5 separate regions of the Homo sapiens genome follow, and regions 2, 3, 4 and 5 are each linked to region 1. Evidence: promoter capture Hi-C in 16 types of primary human blood cells and fetal thymus (Javierre and others, 2016). All regions are on one chromosome and are shown on one strand. The core of a region is centred on a gene start or on the middle of the fragment in contact, and the rest is flanking DNA. Distances in the headings are between cores, read along the strand shown. Region 1 holds the start of PTBP2 (polypyrimidine tract binding protein 2). Region 2 has its middle 160 kb from the start of LINC01787. Region 3 has its middle 140 kb from the start of LINC01787. Region 4 overlaps LINC01787 (long intergenic non-protein coding RNA 1787). Region 5 overlaps LINC01787 (long intergenic non-protein coding RNA 1787).

Region 1 (2,692 bases), core at 87-2,586:
TAATCTTTAGGTAACATCTAGGATGATTTGAATTCTGTGAGACTGTGTTAACTTTTATAAAATCTTGTTTTTAGTACCTTTTAAAACACACCAAACTCTAGGCGCTTAACCAAATTGTTGATTCTTCAAATACTCACTGATTTTAATAAATGTACTTGTTAAATGATACTATGTTTACACTCCCAAAAGAGCTGCATACTGCTGTATTTTTGACCTTAAGCGTGCCCCCTTTCTAACATTGAGTTAAATTACTGAGTCTTTTCAGGTGTGAAGCATATGAGCGAGACATCGGTCCCTACCATTTCACAGTCTTGCCTCTCACCTCACTCAGCATTCCGTCTTGACTCAGGTTCGCAAAGATGCAGCATGGTTCTGGGTTTTTATAGTCGTTTTTCCAGAAACTGACCAAAGTAGCTAAAGAGATAGCCCTTTGTTGACTATCTGCTCTTGTTTCTGCCATTGCTGTTGGCCTTTGCCCATGTGACTGATGTCGGCTTCAAACACTTCGTTTTTTAGATGATTTAATTTCTGGGCCCTTTTGCCAAGCCTTGAATGTTTTCAGTCCCCACAAAAAGGCATTTTTTCCTCCCTCCCGCCCCCACTACCAGACTCAAATGAAAACAAAGGAGTATGACATCTGCCCTCCCCCTTCCTCCCGCCGCCGCACGCCCTCCCCCCTTCCCCAGCGGCTCCCACTAGGCTTTCCCCGGAGCTCCCGCCACCGGCATCTCTCCCGACCACGGAGGGCCGGGCGAGGCCGGAGAGGTTGCTCATGGCTGGGGTCCACATGGGGTGCCTCTCTCCTCTTCCCCTAGAGGCTCCCCCAATCCAAAGGCCTGTCTCTGCCCATCCCACTCGCTCTCACAGGCACCGCTAACCCAAGGGTCGGGTCCCAAGGTACGGATCGAAATGGCTCCTAGAGGGGGCAGGGACAGACCGGGGAGACGTTATGGGGTTCCCACCCCATCCCCCGCCGCCAAGCCGGTGCCCGCTCCCACTCCGGGATCCTCACCCCCGCCATCGCCCCTATGCCTCCCCAGCCTCCAAGCCCGCTTTCTTCTCATTTTCTCGACCAAAGCCCGCCGGGGGAAGCAAAGGGAGGGGTGTGTGCGATGGGGCGGGGGTTGGGTAACGGCAGCCCAGCCCTGGGAGGGGCCGCGGGAGGGTTTCTCCCCGGCCCGGGACCGGGCCGAAGGACGGTCCAACTCCTCTCTCACACACACCTTCTCGCCGGCCCGATTACATACCCGTCCATTGCCGAACCGGACAAAGCTTCGCTCACAAGAACCGAGCCACGCAGCCAGCGAGCCACACAAGCGGCGAGAAAATGGCGGCTGGGGCCCGACGGAAATTGCCGAAGGTGCCGAGGCGCACGGGCCACCGCGCGGCAGCGGCGGCGGCGGAAAGAGCCGAGCGCGCCGGCGCCCGGCAGCGGGAGGCGAGCGGCAGGGCGCTGGGACTAGGGGGAGTGGGCGCCGCAGCCGACGCCTCCTCCGCGCCTTCGCGCGCCTTTCTCCCTCCGCCCTCCGCCTGCCGTCCTCTGGAACCTGGCGTTCTGCTGCAGACCGCGGCGACCTGGTTTCCCCTCCTTGTGGGGGCGTGGGTGGGACACCTCCCAACAGCTCTCCACACTCTCTCTGCCCTGACTGCAGGACGCCCCCAGGCAGCCTCCACTTTTCACTCCAAGCCAAGTACCAGCTTGGCTACCGTCAACCTATGCGGGCCAAGGAAAAAACATTGGATAGCTTTTCTCCTAAGCCATCTTTTATTTGCAGACCGGCTCCAGCCTCTAAAACAAAAATCTTTACCCCACTGAACGAGACCACTTGGTAACAACAGTACTTTCTCAAGCAAGTAGAACTCCTCAGACTGAAATACAGGCTTTTGCTTCAAGACCTGTAGTACCAAGCCAAGTGGAGGAAAATGTGATTCTCACTTCAGTTGGTGATTAGTGTGCGCCTGTAGAAAATATTCACAATACGCTAGGTGGAAATAGACACAAATGGAGCCATGTGTTAAAATGCTACAATAGTTGGAGTTTAACATTTGGAGGCATGAAAGGGAAAGTGGAGATGGGAGTGGGAACAACTGAGTCTTCAGATTGGTTAGAGAAAGTAGAAGCATTAAAATGGGCTATGCAAATTGACTCCCTTTGCTATATCTTACGGTCTCAATTTTTACTTGATACTATAGTGGACATTTTACTTCAACGTGTTTTTATCAGAGGCTCAACAAAATTGGGAAAGGCACCCGCTTGAAAATTTGCTCAGTGAGTAGCGACTTTGCCAGTACCCATCCTTCTCCTGCACCCTTCACCTCCACCCCCAACACACACAAGGACAAATGCACTTCTAATTCTGAAAAATGACAAATACTCCCTGTGTCCCTCCAGTTACTCTCAATACTCACTCTGGGTTTTTCTGTGTCTCCTTCAGGCAAAGCTCTTATCCTTTGCTAATTGGAATTTCATATACTAAATGATATTGTGTATAATTTTTAGAATTTTTTTTTTTGAGACCCAGTCTCGCTCTTGTTGCCCAGGCTGAAGTGCAATGGCGCAATCTCGGCTCACTGCAACCTCGGCCTCCCTGGTTCAAGCGATTCTCCTGCCTCAGCCTCCCGAGTAGCTGGGATTACAGGCACGCGCCACCACGCCCAGCTAACTTTGTATTTTTAGTAGAGACAGGGTTTC
Region 2 (2,692 bases), core at 141-2,640, 500 kb after region 1:
GTACATAAATGTGTGTTAATTCCAAATACGTATATACTTTCATAATAATTGAAAGTTGTTTTCTAAAAGATGTGAAAGCATGTCCTGTCAATAGCCACTACTAGCTTGTTAATCAATTTTTACAAGCTTTGTCTGAGAGAGTTAATTTTTCAAAACTGTGTCACTAATTTCACATTGTGCTTCCTGAATAAACTCATTAGCTTCCCCTGTAAGTCTTAGTTTCTATTCACCAAAATTGCCTGCTCAAACGTGAAAAATACAGTAGGGAGAAAAAATAAAGCCTGTTGTTTTACTGACTCTGAATTCCTTTTGAAAACTTAATCACTTAGTTTGTGAGTTTAGATCCAACTCTAAGGTCATCCTGCAGAGTCAGTTCTCATTTTTTCCTCCCCTCTCCCCACAGAAATCAGGAGAACTAGGGTCATGTGCCCTCCATTCAACTTTGCAAGGATGGACATGTGAGAAGACTAAGTGAGCAGGACAGTAATGAAATGGCTATATTGTATGGTGTTTTTAAGGCTAATTTGTTATGGACTTAAGAAAGGTGAGGAAGGAAAATTGTTTTTCAAACTCGACACTATTGATATCTTGAGCGGAGAATTCTTTGTTAGAAGAGAGAGGAATTGTCCTGTGCATTGAAGAATGTTTAACAGCATTTCAGATCTCTGACCACAAAATGCCAGTAATACCACCCTAGTAGATGTGACAACAGAAAGTGTCTCCCGAGATTGCCAAGTGTTCCATTGGTGACAAAACTTTCATACCAAGATACATTCTTATAATATATGTAAGTAAAGAATCAAAAAATATTGCAAAATCATCGATTACTATAACCACGAGGGACTGGTTAAATTGAGGTAGCCATTGTGAATTACTGTAGACAAAACAAAACAAAAAACACAATTACTGCATCATCTCATCAAATGTGTTCATTCTTATGAATTGAGTCCTAGTTCCATAAGACCTCTGGGTGTCAAACAGAATCACTAGCCTTGTATTAAGTGAAAACACAGAACAGCATCTTTGAAAGTCAAGTCTGCAAGTCCATACAGAGAGTAGAATCTGAGAATTTCAGAGCTGGAAGGCATCTTGGAGAACATCTATACAAACATTGTCTTTTTACTGGTGGCCACTGAGTCTAGTCAGCGTATCTGACTTATCCAACATTACATAGCTAGTTAGTGGCAGTGGTGAGATAAGAATCCAAATCTTTGAAATCCAAATCCAGATTCTCTTTTCTATATCAAAGTATAGGTCTATTTAGTATGGCAGTTTACTGAAGTTTTTCATTGAATGTTTTCCAGCCCCATTCATATACGTAATTTAAAGCATGGTAATAGTCTAGTTAAAATTTGCTTCAAATTTTTAAGAATCAAATCTTATGGCATTATCATCTCAGATAATAATTTTCCAGACATCAGCTTTTATTTAGCAGTAGGCATGTTCATCTTGAGATCCATTTTAAAGCATCTTGGCACTTTCTTTTGGAAAATGTTATGTCATAATAATAAAATATGATTAGGTATTTCCACTTAAATATTTCTGAATCTCCTAAAACTTATTCTTCCTTCAAATCTCCCTCTAGTTTTCCCTAACTCTATTATTCTCCTAGTTTAAAAATTCACATTGCCTTTTACTAATTTTTTTTCTGAACACACAATAGCCAAACAATTTCTAAATCCCATTATTCCTTTTATTCATTGTCTTTTTGAAAAACAATTATTTCTTTTCAGCTCCATTGCCATCGGACTGTAGAGATCCTTATCAGTATGTCTACAGACTAGTAAGCTGAGACAAATGTGTTTTGCCATATTTAGTCTTTTCTCCATCTACTACCCAACTCACTTTGCATATCACCATCTGAGGATTCTTACTAAAATATTTATGTCATAAATCCACCAATAAGTAAATATTCATTGAACAATTCCTGGGTCCAGTTAATGCTTTAGACACAAAAGATGGGTAGAAGTGGTGGGGAGAGGAGGATTTGTAGCCAAAAAAATTTTAAACGAGCTTCCTGCTTCTATGAGTTTATTTTTCAGTTGAAATGCATATTGCAGTAAACTAAGAGGCTTAATGCAAGAGCACACATACATGCAAATAGGTAAATACAGAAACTTCACACTTGCCATTTCAAATTTCTAAGATGTTTATCCTGATTTCCAGTTCAAAGATGAATCTTAGTGATAGCTTGAAAAGTAATAACTATACACATGTATTAACCTTTATAATCCCATTTGTGATAATCTCAACACTTTGTTCTTTCCCCATGTGTGCTTGTTACAGCAACCAATTTTTCCAGTGGTAGCAACCAATGTGCAGTAGCAGCTGATGTCCCCATCTGTTTCTGCTTGCTTTCAATTAAATAAATCATTGTATCACATGCTCAAGCTGACCAATGAACCCTTGGCTAAGGCAGTTTTGGGAGGAACCTTCCAGCAATGTAGAAACTATTGGCCGAGACCAATATTTATTCAGGGATATTTATTCACAAGTCACCTCTCCATCAGGGTTCTATCTTCTAGGTTGCCATTTTCTGTCTTCCTGTTAAAGATGGAACCCAGACACTTACTTGTAAGATAATAGAGCAGAAATATAGGAAACAATGAGGCTCTGAGACCCTATCTAAACGGCCTCAGTGTGGCCTAAGCTTTGGATGGCGATTTAGCATTCATGTGTAATAAGTGCCCTT
Region 3 (2,692 bases), core at 60-2,559, 490 kb after region 1:
GCCTTGGGCTAGGTAGGGATAGGGTGGAAGGGAGGGTTACAATGGGGGTTGGCTGGGGATCTACCATTGTAAAAAGGTCTTACCCTTTACACCTTCTCTATTTTTTTTACGGTCTTGATTTCACACCACTCTGACTCATAATTTTTTATTGTGCTTTTCACCATCAGGTCAGCATATTTGTTTATAAAGTTATTTAATCTGCATTGTATCTCCCTGCTACCATATCTATAGATATATTTCTCACACACCTGTAGAATAAACTAGACATAGTAAGGCTACAATGACAAGGCCACTAGGGATGTGCTGGTGATGATGATGATGATGATGAAGATGATGATGATTTTTAGAGGGTTCATCTTCTTTGTGCCAGGCATTATTTTAAGTACTTTACATGCAGACCCTGGACATACGATTGCACAGAGTGATCCCTGCAACAGGATGGCCAGGAAAGGGTCACGTGAGCTGAGATCTAGCGGAAGCTTTGCTTGCCATGTTCTGTCTCCTAGAGAAGGGAGGTGTGCACCCTGAGAGGCATCTTTGTCTAATCTCCAAATGTGCTTCTGGCTAGTAGCAGCTATGTTTATATGAATTCACTCATTTTATCACCACAACAGTAGTTTGAAGTATTGTTATCAAATATGTTAAAATAAGAGGCAGCTGGTGTTCAATAAAATCCCTAAAAATATAAAAGGATGTGTTGGGATTTGAAAACACCAATAAGAGCAGAGTTCATGCTTTGGTGAGCAGCAGCCCAGGATACAGGGCCACTGCATCCTGACACTGCCCTTTTTCTCTGTGATGGCACTTGAAATGTTTACAAAAGCATGTGCATCTTTGTTCATGTACCCACCTTATAGCTAAAGCAAACTGCACTTCACAGAATTTCTGCAACATGCTCTAAAATATATCCTAAATTCTTTCTGTTCTTAATCTTTAGCAAATGGACATCAAATATGGGGAGAACACAGGTTCTCACACGTAGCTATGAGAAAACAAAATGTACTTTTAGCTTTTTATATTTGGCAGTGTCACCTTACTTATTCACACACTATCCAGTATACCCAGAAAGCTGTCTGAATGCACTGAAATGGTTTGTAAATCTTGGTGATAAGTGGTTTTTATTTAAATGTAGAAATGACACCTTTGTCCTCAGATAGTTGACATTAAAAGGTTTCTATGAGGAAATAGAGCAGTAAGAAGGACATCAATGTGATTTCGCCACCTTGTGGCAGCTGATTAATTTTCAGCTTCTTTAGATCTCTTGAATTTCAAGGACTTTCTTGCTGTTGATTATCTCCAGTTCATTTCTGAGGCAAAAATTCCTATGTGAATTTATCGCTAAGATTCAGCCTCTTTTCATTCTCAGGGTCATTCTCTATTCACAAGTTGTGCACGACACATTAAGCACATCACTGCTGATGGCCAGTACCCTCCCATTTCCTTGGTGGCTAAAAGCACAATGTAATGTATTAAAGCCAGAAGGAGTGCTATGCAAATACCAGCTAAAAGCAACCTACAGCCTATCTTAGGACACTGTATAGTTGTCACATACTCAAATATTGCTTATCACTAGAAAGTGGGTCATGGTCAAATCTCAATTAAGCATTTCTATCAAGACCTCCCACCTGCTACCTAGGCAGCATGCTGGATTTGGTGCCTTGCAGGTGCTCCAGTGGTGTCAAAGCATAGGGGTGACTCTCAGAATTAGAAAATAATAGTAGTAACATCTTCTGTGATTAAAAATTCATAACAACCTCAGAAGGAATGAGTCTGTGGGAGGAAAATGCTTCTAAAGAAAGGCAAACTTCTTCCATACAGGTCTTTGGCAAACACAATCATCTCAAGAAAAGAAAGGGGATTACAGTTTAAATATATAATAAAAAAGAACCGAAAAGTAATAAAACTTCAAAAGCTGTAATACACTGTGTTAATGCCACAAATGTTTCTATGGTATTTCAAAGTAACTAGAATGAGTACTTTTAGTAATTTATTCGAGTCAAGGAGATAAGAGCCTTAAACATACTCATTCTTAGCAAAAACATGCTGTGGAAGTTATTGATCTTTCTGATCAGAAAGGAGTACGTTTAAATGAAGAGAGTACATTCTTGAAGCCTCGCAGATTTACAGTTTTGAAGCTTTTAATATAATGTGAGGATATACCTTCAACTTTACTGAAAGGAGATGACTCCAAGAAAAGAAATATCAAGGAAAAAGGTCTGAAAAGAAAGCAGGTTATCTCGGGTGATTGTTCCGTGTCGTCAAGAAAAAGAAGAAAATAAATCTGACCAACATCTGAAGACAAACTCAAACCATTTCAAGCCACAGGGCAAAGGGACAGGGAGGCCCCTGGATACTTGAACAGACCCTCTGGACTGGGGCATCTGTGTGTAACTTATCAGAAGAAAAAAGGGTTTGCTATGACTTAGTGATAAGTGTGTCACAATGAGGGGCTTTTGGAACACAACTTTCCTAAGGCCCACTTGCACAATTTGAAGGCCTGGGAGGGGTTTCCATGGGAGGCAAACTATTTCTTAAGGATGAGAGAAAACTAGAGAGGAAAAGAATAGAGGCTATCACATGAGATGAATTGAAATTTGGACTCACAGCCAGACACTGAAGACCATAGAAAAAAAGCCCCAAGGACGTGAAAACCTGTTACTGTTTAATAAAAGGCTTCTGGCCAGCGAGTCTT
Region 4 (2,692 bases), core at 101-2,600, 400 kb after region 1:
GGATTCTTTAGCTACTATGAAAACATTTTCATGCATGGATAGTTGATTGAATTTATGTTTCTGCAAGGGGATGAGTGCTAGAAAGTCTTTCCTCTCCATCTTGCTGATGTCACTCCATCCTAATAGCCTTTAATAAGATGTTTATTTATTCCATTTATTGTGTCAGACCTGTCCTAGAGATAGAAGAGCAGAAGCACAAATGTTGCCTGAGTCCAATATGACTATTGAGCTGCCATACCAATGGTGAAATATTTACATCAAGACTTTTAAGTGAGAAAGTAATAGATGTTTATCTTATTTAACCCATTTTATTTTGGGTATCTATTACATATGACTATGTATTATAACTAACAGTCACTTAGCATTACTAATTTCACTATAATGTAGTATATGTATATATACACATATTAGATATAACCCTGAACAAATGGTATTGATTCCAAAAACCATAAATAAAATTGAATCCAATTTATTCTTTCTCACAACATGTGTGGGACTCACTGTATGTATGTTACTGTATTTATATTTTCTAAGCCTGTACCCAAGACTGTTTTGAAATCGTGGATAACAGAATCCAGAAATTAGCATTAACATTTTTAAACTGCAGTTTTATTCCTTAAGAATTATATTTTAAAGCACACTACTCCTTTGATATGAAAGATCACCTTAACAGACTATTTCTGCAGAGAAAATTGCAATCCTATGTTTTGTTACAGAGGTTTAACCCCATGGTGAAAAAAGTGCTTTGCATGATAATACTGAAGTGGTCTTCAGTTTGAGTGAAATTGCATCCATGGAGATTATGTATCACTAGAGAAATGGTTTCTAAACATAAATACGTGTGTACCCATGTTTAATCACTTACCATCTACAAACCTAGGCAGAAACCTGATGATGAAAAAAACATGAATTTTATATTTCTCTCATGGTGGCAGAGACTCTAAAGAGGATAAGAGTGAGAGTGTTAGAGCTCAATTTGTACTATTCTGATAAACACATTCTTCAAGACCAGGAATTGTCAAACTATGTCTTGCTGGCCAAATCCAACTCAAGGCCTGTTTTTGTATTGCTCATGAGCTATGAATAATTTTTAAATCTCTAAAGGATTGAGAAGAAGAAGAAACCCACAGATTACAAAAAATATTTGCAAACCATACAGCTGATAAGGAGCTAATATCCAAAATATATAAGGAATTTTAATAACTCAAGAACAAGAAAGCAACTCGCTTAAAAAATGAGCACAGGACCTGAACAGACGTTTCTTAAAAGAAGACATACAAATGACCAATAGATTAATTAAAAAATGCTCAGTATTCCTAATTATTAGGAAAATGCAAATTAAAACCACAACAAAATATCATCTGCACCTGTTAGAATGGATTTTATTAAAAAATGAAATATAATAAGTGTTGGCAATGATGTGGAGAAAAGGGGATCCTTATATACTACTAGTGGGGATGTAAAGTAGTACAGCCATTATGGAAAACGATATGGGGGTAGAACTACCATATGATCCAGCAATCTCACTTCTGGGAATATATCCAAAGAATTGAAATAGATATGTTGAAGGGATGTGTAAATTTTCATGTACATTGCAACATTATTTACAATAGGCAAGATATGGAATTAACTTAAATGTCCATCTAACTGATGAAGAAAGAAAATATTTAAAAAATATATATACACTATGGAACACTATTTAGCCTTTAAAAAAAGAACAAAATCATGTCATTTGGAACAAACCAGGCACAGAAAGACAAATATGTACTTTCCACTTATCTCCAGTTTTGCTTTTCAAAATTTCAGTTATCTAGGCTCAACCATGGTCTAAAAATATTAAATGAAAAATTTCAGAAATAAACAGTTGATAATTTGTAAATTGCATGCCATTCTGGGTAACATGATGAAATCTCTTGTCTTCCTGCTTCATTCCACCTGGGATATCAACCATCCTTTTGTCCAGCAAATTAACTTTGTATACACTACTTGCCCGTTAGTCACTTAGTAGCCATTTTGGTTACTAGACCTAAATAACTTAGTACACATAAGGTTCAGCACTATCTGCAGTTTCAAGCATCAACTGGGGGCCTTGAAACATATCTTTTATGCATAAGGGCGGACTGCTGTACTGGATGATCTCACTTATATATGGAATCTCAAAAAAGTTGAATTCACAGAAATAGAGAGTAGAATGATGGTTACCAGAAGCCTGGTGTGGGGGTGGGGAGGTGGGTGGGAAGGCAAGATGGGTTTGAGGACTGCTGGTCAAAGGGACAAAGTTTCAGCTAGACAAGAGGAATGTTTTAAGTTTTGGTCACACAGGGTGACCATAGTTAATAGTAATGTATTATATATTTCAAAATACATGAGTAAATATCAAATGTGTCATCACAAAAAATGTTAAACAAGTAGGTGATGAATATATTAATTAGCTTGATTTAATCATTCCACATTACATATACATGCCAAAATATCACATTGTGCTCCATAAATGTAATATATTATGGTTTGGCAGTTAAAAATAATATAAATTTTAAAAAGCAGCAGCAAGAGATATATATGTGGCCCCCAATGTCTAAAATATTTACTGCCTAGTCCTTTACAAATAAATCTGCTAATCCCTCAGACTCAATAACCCAACAATATGGAATACACTGAAGTTAGTGTGTATTATATAGATCGTCCTTGCATA
Region 5 (2,692 bases), core at 78-2,577, 360 kb after region 1:
ATTAGGTGTGGATCTTCACTACCTGCAAAACCAGTCAAAACCCCCACCCCTTCCCAGGTTTGGGGTATCTCCCCGTCTTTCAGGTTCAGAATATTTGGCCTCGCTGCTTACAAACTTTCTCCACTCAGCCTTGGCATTTCCCAAGCAATTTCTCCTCAAAGGATCTTTAAAAACAATGTTGCTATTTCTTTCCTGGGGGCGTGGTGAAAAGCATATTTACCCAGTTGAAGTTGTCATGTGAAATCCCTGTTTTATGCATATAGATCACTTATCATACTTCCTAGCATGAGGTAAGTGCTCTATGAATGTGATGGAGAGCTGCTGTCTCTCCTGAGCCATCTTCCAGCTTCCTCAAGCTTTACAATCCTGCTCTGCGCCCAGGAGGCTGACATACAGGATGCATCATTGAGTTCCCATGTTCTCTGGCTTCTGGTTAGGCTCTGTCTATAGGGGGGATGAGAGACAGGGAGTACAGTTAGGTTGAGGAATTCATTCTCCTGGCTGCTCCCTGTGGAGTCACATGTGGCTGCCTCACTCTGTGGCAGGCTACAGCTTTTGCTGGATGGCCCATGCTTCATGGTCTTTTCTCTTCTTTTCCTGCCTCTTCATGCCTTAGATGTGGTGACACCTCCTGTGGTTACCAGCTCTAGAGTATTACCCCATCCTTTGTTGTTTTCCTCCTTTGGTAAATAGCTCCCATCCTCATTATTCTTAATATATATATATATTTTTTTTTCCCGAGATGGAGTGTCGCTCTGTCACCCAGGCTGGAGTGCAGTGGCGTGATCTTGGTTCATTGCAACCTCCATCTCCCGAGTTCAAGCAATTATCCTGCCTCAGCCTCTTGAGTAGATGGGATTACAGGCACGTATCACCACGTCCAGCAAATTTTTGTATTTTTAGTAGAGACAGGGTTACACCATGTTGGCCAGGCTGGTCTCAAACTCCTGACCCCAGGTGATCTACCCACCTCGGCCTCGCAAAGTGCTGGGATCACAGACATGAGCCACCACGCCCGGCCTCTTAATAAAATCTTTATTTTATTCAAGTATTGGGTTCTTAAGTGCTTCCTGGATCACTCTCAAAACTAGAGGAATAAATGTTGAGGCCAATCATAATCATTTTATTCCCATGTCAGCAAAAGATGGTCATGTGCTGCACTGCGGTCAGTTAAATAAAAGAAAGAGGGTTCCTGGGAGTACCTCAGAAGGTTTTCTTTACCCTTAAAAAGAGACACCTAATAAAAGCTTGTGCTTTTTATCTTTACATGTTGTGTGTATGGAAGTGATAGTTGGAGCCATTGGAGCCATCTTGTGACCATGAGTGAAAACCAAGAGAAAATCATAGAGAAATCGGACATTGTTAAGTTGCTGAATTAAGTCCAGAATTTCCTGCTGTCAAGCTTTTGTTATGGGATATAATTAATTTTCGGCAATTTAAATGACTTTAGTTGGAGTTTTATGTTACCTGTAGCTAAAAATAGCCTGGGGGATTAATCCCAATCTCTCTTTACACTTATTTGTTTTTAGTGCAAAAACAATTCCTAACAGAAAAATAATTATTTTCAATGTTTGGTAGCTGCTATTTTTTTCTATTGCATTGTATTTTCAAGTTAAGGCCATAAAATAATAAAGAACATTTGAATCTCTTTAAAGTGAAGACTTCCAGCGGTATAAAATTTTTGTATCATCTGAGAATTGGCACACTTCCGAGATGAGTGGGATAGGAAGTGGGAAATCTACAATTTCAACATATGTCTAATAGGGGTTAAATTTTTCTTGAGAGAACAAACAAAAAAAATAACATCTATAAGATTACAGAAAAAATGTTACCTTGCTTTTCTTAGAATTTCAGTTTTACTGTGGAAATTGTGGAGTCTGAAAAGGAAAAGCTATTTGCTTACAGAGTTAAAGGATAGACTATCCTGGAGACTCTGGAAAACTTTAGTATCAGCCATTCTACCAGTTACTGATTTACAATTTGCCAAATGCTTGGAAATTTCCTGGCCTATTGTTACCATGATGTAATTATTTGTTTAGCATATTTTCCAGCAAGAAAAGAGAGGTCGAAGACAGAAGTGGTAAGTTTTCAATTTCAGATACAGGTCAGAGGTAAAGGAGTCATATAGCTGAATTTTCCAGGAAAGACTCCATTTCTAATATGGATCAATTCATTCAGTTCTACTTCAGTGACTCAAGTATCACAGAACGTAAAGACCATAAGTCATATGAGTCATCTCTTTCATTTTTTTTTTTTACCAGAAACTCTATCAGTTGACCAGAAATAATTACAATTTCATAAATCCCCTACCTTCCTTAGGGAAGGTACATTTCCTTCTTTCTAATGCCTTTGTCATACAGAGACAGAAAATAAGGAAAAGATATCTGGGGATGGGAAAATGCTACTATCAACATTTATTCTGTTTCCTTCCTCTTTACTCCTTATTTTCAATTTTGTGTGCCAACTCAGGTAACCATCTTCCCACAAACCTAGACTGTGGTGGGGAACAAGGAGGGGGCAGATGTTGGCTCTGATAAATAGCTGCCCCTCTTTCTGTGCCTCTGCTACAAGGTACTTATTGATACAAAAATAAAAAAGTACTAAACATAGTAAACATAGTATCCAGTTTTTCTGTGTAAATCCAAAAAAGACATTATTATTGACTGGGTTCTATATCAAGTCTGGGCAAGTT

The links. Contacts are between HindIII fragments. The CHiCAGO score rates a contact against its expected background, and 5 or more counts as called.
Region 2: a fragment that was not itself captured here is called in contact with the fragment with the promoter of PTBP2 in region 1 in 1 of 17 cell types (endothelial precursors); the score reaches 5.7 in endothelial precursors.
Region 3: a fragment that was not itself captured here is called in contact with the fragment with the promoter of PTBP2 in region 1 in 4 of 17 cell types (endothelial precursors, M2 macrophages, M1 macrophages and 1 more); the score reaches 12.2 in endothelial precursors.
Region 4: a contact is called between a fragment that was not itself captured here and the fragment with the promoter of PTBP2 in region 1, in 1 of 17 cell types (M2 macrophages). The highest score is 5.1, in M2 macrophages.
Region 5: a fragment that was not itself captured here is called in contact with the fragment with the promoter of PTBP2 in region 1 in 2 of 17 cell types (M1 macrophages and M2 macrophages); the score reaches 5.9 in M1 macrophages.

Annotation. Positions count from the first base shown.
Region 1 is chr1:96,720,428-96,723,119 of GRCh38, reverse strand. It overlaps PTBP2 (polypyrimidine tract binding protein 2), which reads right to left and starts at 1,336. Exons shown (of 14, transcript NM_021190.4): 1 at 1,248-1,336. The coding sequence starts at 1,255. RefSeq lists silencers at 861-1,140, 1,371-1,570. The HindIII fragment of the contact is 2,234 bases long and covers 1,275-2,692 here.
Region 2 is chr1:96,217,496-96,220,187 of GRCh38, reverse strand. No RefSeq gene overlaps it. Among named protein-coding and RNA genes, the nearest start is that of LINC01787, 160 kb to the left of the region's middle. The HindIII fragment of the contact is 2,524 bases long and covers 129-2,652 here.
Region 3 is chr1:96,234,869-96,237,560 of GRCh38, reverse strand. No RefSeq gene overlaps it. Among named protein-coding and RNA genes, the nearest start is that of LINC01787, 140 kb to the left of the region's middle. The HindIII fragment of the contact is 1,656 bases long and covers 482-2,137 here.
Region 4 is chr1:96,315,927-96,318,618 of GRCh38, reverse strand. All of the region lies in intron 3 of LINC01787 (long intergenic non-protein coding RNA 1787), which reads left to right. Among named protein-coding and RNA genes, the nearest start is that of LINC01787, 57 kb to the left of the region's middle. The HindIII fragment of the contact is 7,163 bases long and covers 1-2,692 here.
Region 5 is chr1:96,356,872-96,359,563 of GRCh38, reverse strand. The region is part of intron 1 of LINC01787 (long intergenic non-protein coding RNA 1787); the gene reads left to right. Among named protein-coding and RNA genes, the nearest start is that of LINC01787, 16 kb to the left of the region's middle. The HindIII fragment of the contact is 155 bases long and covers 1,250-1,404 here.